Linked DNA regions of Homo sapiens: region 1 is linked to region 2. The links are contacts of gene promoters, found by promoter capture Hi-C in human tissues and cell types (Jung and others, 2019). All regions are on one chromosome and are shown on one strand. Each heading gives the region's core, a stretch centred on a gene start or on the middle of the fragment in contact. The rest is flanking DNA. Distances are from core to core; before and after follow the strand shown.

Region 1 (3,006 bases), core at 175-2,674, 1.1 Mb before region 2:
TTGAGAGGGAGTTTTGCTCTTGTCGCCCAGGCTGGAGTGCAGTGGTGCGATCTCAGCTCACTGTAACGTCTGCCTCCTGGGTTCAAGCGATTCTTCTGCCTCAGCCTCCCGAGTAGCTGGGATTACAGGCGCCCGCCACCATGCCCGGCTAATTTTTTGTATTTTTAGTAGAGACGAGGTTTCACCATGTTGGTCAGGCTGGTCTTGAACTCCTAACCTCAGGTGATCCACCTGCCTTGGCTTCCCAAAGTGCTGGGAATACAGGCGTGAGCCACCGCGCCTGGCCTTTCACTTGTATTTCTAAATAAAACTTACTTTGGGCCGGACACGGTGGCTCACGTCTGTAATCCCAGCACTTTGGGAAGCTGAGGCAGGCGGATCACGAGGTCAGGAGATCGAGACCATCCTGGCTAACACCGTGAAACCCTGTCTCTACAAAAAATACAAACATTAGTCAGGTGTTGTGGCGGGCGCCTATAGTCCCAGCTACTCGGGAGGCTGAGATAGGAGAATGGCATGAAGCTAGGAGGCGGAGCTTGCAGTGAGCTGAGATCCCACCACTGCACTCCAGCCTGGGCGACAGCGAGACTCCATCTCAAAAAAAAAAAAAAAGTTACTTTGAATACTGACATTTAAAGAAAAAGACACGATGTGAGAGAATGACCATGGAATTAGTGGTTGAAGAGCCAAGTGCAGAGGCCTGTGATCTGGAAGGTTGCCTGCTATCTTGGAGAAATATAGCAAGGAAATCAGAGTAACTGGTAGTGTCAGCTAGGAGAGTAACAAAAAAATGAGGTGAAGTCAGAGAGAGGGGATAGAGGCGACAAATACTATAGGACCTTGTGGGAACCATGCAAGAAGTTTGGTTTCTATTCCTCGTGAGATGAGAAGTCATTTGGAAGATTATGAGGTTGGTATGATGTGATTGAGATTTTAAAACAAGATTTACACTGATTACTGTGTTGATTGATTTGGAAGTAAGAACCAGTAGGAGGAGGATCAGTTAGGAGGCTTGAAGAAACCCATTTGAGAAAAGATAGTGACTTGGACTAGATTGAGTGTAGTTGAGGTGGTATGAAGTGGTTGGATTCTGCCAATAGGATTTCATGACTGGGACCGGTCGCGATGGCTCACGCCTGTAATCCCAGCACTTTGGGAAGCTGATACGGGTGGATCATCTGAGGTCAGGAGTTTGAGACCAGCCTGGCCAACGTGGTGAAACCCCGTCTCTACTAAAAATATAAAAGATTAGCTGGGCGTGGTGGTGCATGCCTGCAATCCCAGCTACTTGGTAGGCTAAGGCAGAAGAATCTCTTGAGCCCAGGAGATCCTTGTTTTTTTTTTCTTTTAAGAGACTGACTCACTCTGTCTCCCAGGCCTGGAGTGCAGTGGACATGATCACTATAGCTCCTCACTCCTGGGCTCAAGTGAGCCACCTCAGCCTCCCAAATAGCTAGGGCTACACATGCACACCATCTGTTGTGATATTTTTAAAAATTTGTTTTCTTATTGTAAAACACAATATTGTATGTGTTCTTGTTGTTTTTTAACTTAAATGAATTCATGCAGATGATTTGGCATCTTGTTTCAGTGGAAGAGCGTGTGCGTGTGTACACTTAAGTTTGTCTGCAGGATAGATTCTTGGTGTGGATTTGTGCAACATGGGTATGAATTCAAGTTTTCTTTCAAAAATTTTCCAAAATGTATCCTTTAATAAGTATTAAATATATCTTTGGCCGGGTGCGGTGGCTCATGCCTATAATCCCAGCATTTGGGAGGCCGAGGCGGGCAGATCACGAGGTCAGGAGATCAAGACCATCCTGGCTAACAATGGTGAAACCCTGTCTCTACTAAAAAAATACAAAAATATTAGCTGGGTGTGGTGGTGGGCGCCTGTAGTCCCAGCTACTTGAGAGGCTGAGGCAGGAGAATGGTGTGAACCTGGAAGGCAGACTTGCGCCACTGCACTCCAGCCTGGGTGACAGAGCAAGACTCTTGTCTCAAAAAAAAAATAAGTATTAAATATATTTTTATATACTCCTCGGGTTCTATTAGTACTTTACAGTTTTTAATTTAAAAGTGAGATTACTGTTTAAGTTACATGTGTGCACATTACCCTTTTGTCAAGTTATAAGTAGAATTTCTACCCTTTATTTTATTTTTTTAAATTTTTAAATTTTTTTGGAGACGGAGTTTTGCTCTTGTTCCCCAGGCTGGAGTGCAGTGGTGCAATCTCAGCTCACTGCAACCTCTGCCTCCCAGGTTCAAGTGATTCTCTTACCAGCCTCTCCAGTAGCTGGGATTACAGGTGCCCACCACCATGCCCAGTTTTTTGTATTTTTAGTAGAGACGGGGTTTCACCATGTTGGCCAGGCTGGTCTCGAACTCCTGACCTCAGGTTATCCACCCACCTTGGCCTCCCAAAGTACTGGGATTACAGGCGTGAGCCACCATGCGCAGCCTTTTTTTTTTTTTTTTTTTTTTTTTTTTTTTTTTTTTTTTTGGAGACAGGATCTTACTCTTTTTCCCAGGCTGCAGTGCAGTGGTGCAATCATGGCTCACTATAACCTGAACTCCTGGGCTTAAGCGATTCTTCTCCCTCAGCCTCCTGAGTAGCTGGGACTAAAGGCATGCAATACCATGCTGGGCTAAATTTTTTTTTTTTTTTTTTTTAATTTTAAATTTTATTTTAAGAGATGGAGTCTTACTGTGTTGCCCAGGCTAGTCTCAGACTCCTGGCTTCAAGCAATCCTCTCTCCCACCTCAAAGTTTTGGGATTACAGTTGTGAGCCACCACGCCTAGCCACATCTATTGAATTTTTTTATTGTTGTTGTTTTGTTTTTTTGTTTGTTTGCTTGTCTTTGGACTTAGTCTCATTCTGTCGCCCAGGCTGGAGTGCAGTGGTGTGATCTCAGCTCACTGCAACCTCTGCCTCCCAGATTCAAGCGATTCTCCTGCCTCAGCCTCCCGAGTAGCTGAGATTACAGGCTCCCACCACCACACCC
Region 2 (2,700 bases), core at 201-2,700:
TGGGATAAAAGCAGCACAGCCCCCTAGGGGCTGCCCTTGCTGTGTGGCGCCACCGGCGGTGGAGAACAAGGCTCTATTCAGCCTGTGCCCAGGAAAGGGGATCAGGGGATGCCCAGGCATGGACAGTGGGTGGCAGGGGGGGAGAGGAGGGCTGTCTGCTTCCCAGAAGTCCAAGGACACAAATGGGTGAGGGGACTGGGCAGGGTTCTGACCCTGTGGGACCAGAGTGGAGGGCGTAGATGGACCTGAAGTCTCCAGGGACAACAGGGCCCAGGTCTCAGGCTCCTAGTTGGGCCCAGTGGCTCCAGCGTTTCCAAACCCATCCATCCCCAGAGGTTCTTCCCATCTCTCCAGGCTGATGTGTGGGAACTCGAGGAAATAAATCTCCAGTGGGAGACGGAGGGGTGGCCAGGGAAACGGGGCGCTGCAGGAATAAAGACGAGCCAGCACAGCCAGCTCATGTGTAACGGCTTTGTGGAGCTGTCAAGGCCTGGTCTCTGGGAGAGAGGCACAGGGAGGCCAGACAAGGAAGGGGTGACCTGGAGGGACAGATCCAGGGGCTAAAGTCCTGATAAGGCAAGAGAGTGCCGGCCCCCTCTTGCCCTATCAGGACCTCCACTGCCACATAGAGGCCATGATTGACCCTTAGACAAAGGGCTGGTGTCCAATCCCAGCCCCCAGCCCCAGAACTCCAGGGAATGAATGGGCAGAGAGCAGGAATGTGGGACATCTGTGTTCAAGGGAAGGACTCCAGGAGTCTGCTGGGAATGAGGCCTAGTAGGAAATGAGGTGGCCCTTGAGGGTACAGAACAGGTTCATTCTTCGCCAAATTCCCAGCACCTTGCAGGCACTTACAGCTGAGTGAGATAATGCCTGGGTTATGAAATCAAAAAGTTGGAAAGCAGGTCAGAGGTCATCTGGTACAGCCCTTCCTTCCCTTTTTTTTTTTTTTTTTTGTGAGACAAGGTCTCTCTCTGTTGCCCAGGCTGGAGTGGCGCAAACACAGCTCACTGCAGCCTCAACCTACTGGGCTCAAGCAATCCTCCAGCCTCAGCCTCCCAAAGTGCTGGGATTACAAGCATGAGCCACCCCACTCAGCCCTTTCCTTCCTTTTTAATTGATGCATAATAATTGTAAGTATTCATCATGGTCCAACCAACCCTTTCTTGACCCACCTTCCTAGAGAGAGGGTCCTCTTGCTTCAGCGGTCAGGGCCCCAGACCCATGGTCTGGCTCCAGGTACCACCTGCCTCATGCAGGAGTTGGCGTGCCCAGGAAGCTCTGCCTCTGGGCACAGTGACCTCAGTGGGGTGAGGGGAGCTCTCCCCATAGCTGGGCTGCGGCCCAACCCCACCCCCTCAGGCTATGCCAGGGGGTGTTGCCAGGGGCACCCGGGCATCGCCAGTCTAGCCCACTCCTTCATAAAGCCCTCGCATCCCAGGAGCGAGCAGAGCCAGAGCAGGATGGAGAGGAGACGCATCACCTCCGCTGCTCGCCGCTCCTACGTCTCCTCAGGGGAGATGATGGTGGGGGGCCTGGCTCCTGGCCGCCGTCTGGGTCCTGGCACCCGCCTCTCCCTGGCTCGAATGCCCCCTCCACTCCCGACCCGGGTGGATTTCTCCCTGGCTGGGGCACTCAATGCTGGCTTCAAGGAGACCCGGGCCAGTGAGCGGGCAGAGATGATGGAGCTCAATGACCGCTTTGCCAGCTACATCGAGAAGGTTCGCTTCCTGGAACAGCAAAACAAGGCGCTGGCTGCTGAGCTGAACCAGCTGCGGGCCAAGGAGCCCACCAAGCTGGCAGACGTCTACCAGGCTGAGCTGCGAGAGCTGCGGCTGCGGCTCGATCAACTCACCGCCAACAGCGCCCGGCTGGAGGTTGAGAGGGACAATCTGGCACAGGACCTGGCCACTGTGAGGCAGAAGTGAGGAGGGGATGGGGAAGGGGGGCCTTGTGAGCAGAAGGGGCTGAATCCCCAAGAAGGAGTGCCCGAGAAGTCTCAGGGAGGGGCCGAACCTCCCTGCTCCCTGGGCCTCCCTACCTCTTGATGGGGCACTATCCTTGCCCCCCAACATGATGGGAGGGACCAGAAACAGGCCCAGGGCCCCGGGGATCTGATGCCCGCATGCCTTCTGCCAGGAGTCCAGGGTCCCCTCAGCACCTCCCTACTGGGGAAAGCAGTGCAGGAGCAGCGGGGCCCCTGTGTTTCATTCATGGCTGGGCTTTGTGACTGTGGGCAGCGAGCTCACCTATTCTGAGCCTGTGTCCATATAAAGGAGGAGTTGGAAGCGGAGAAGGTTGATGTCCATGAGGGAGATTGGATTCTGGGGTGAAGAAAGTGAGGGAAAGAGCAGGCAGGTCTGGGCGCAAAGCACAGGTGACTGCCTGCCACCAGCTTGTGACCCCCATCAAGTTACTTTGACTTGCACAGCTGTGAAGCGGTGGTCATAATAAAATTCATTTCAAAAGGTGGTTACCTGGGATCAGAGGAATCCCCAGGGGCATGGCGCTTCACTGAGCTGACAGGACATGCATGTGTGCCTTCAAGTGCAGGAGGACATGTGCGTGTGTGTGTGTGTGTGTGCAACAGTGAGTGTATGCTTGTGGATGCGCCTGTGTGAGCAGAAGCAGGTGCACCAACCCTGATAAGGCACCTTAGTAATGAGTTAAGGCAAAAGCCCACATCTGCTCATCCTCCAG

What was found. Contacts are between HindIII fragments. The study calls those that stand out against the background at their distance.
Region 1: a contact is called between a fragment that was not itself captured here and the fragment with the promoter of GFAP in region 2, in 1 of the 25 tissues and cell types used here (aorta).

Annotation. Positions count from the first base shown.
Region 1 is chr17:46,052,462-46,055,467 of GRCh38, reverse strand. All of the region lies in intron 6 of KANSL1 (KAT8 regulatory NSL complex subunit 1), which reads left to right. Among named protein-coding and RNA genes, the nearest start is that of STH, 55 kb to the right of the region's middle. The HindIII fragment of the contact is 5,613 bases long and covers 1-3,006 here.
Region 2 is chr17:44,914,250-44,916,949 of GRCh38, reverse strand. It overlaps GFAP (glial fibrillary acidic protein), which reads left to right and starts at 1,450. Exons shown (of 9, transcript NM_002055.5): 1 at 1,450-1,924. The coding sequence starts at 1,464. The HindIII fragment of the contact is 9,658 bases long and covers 1-2,700 here.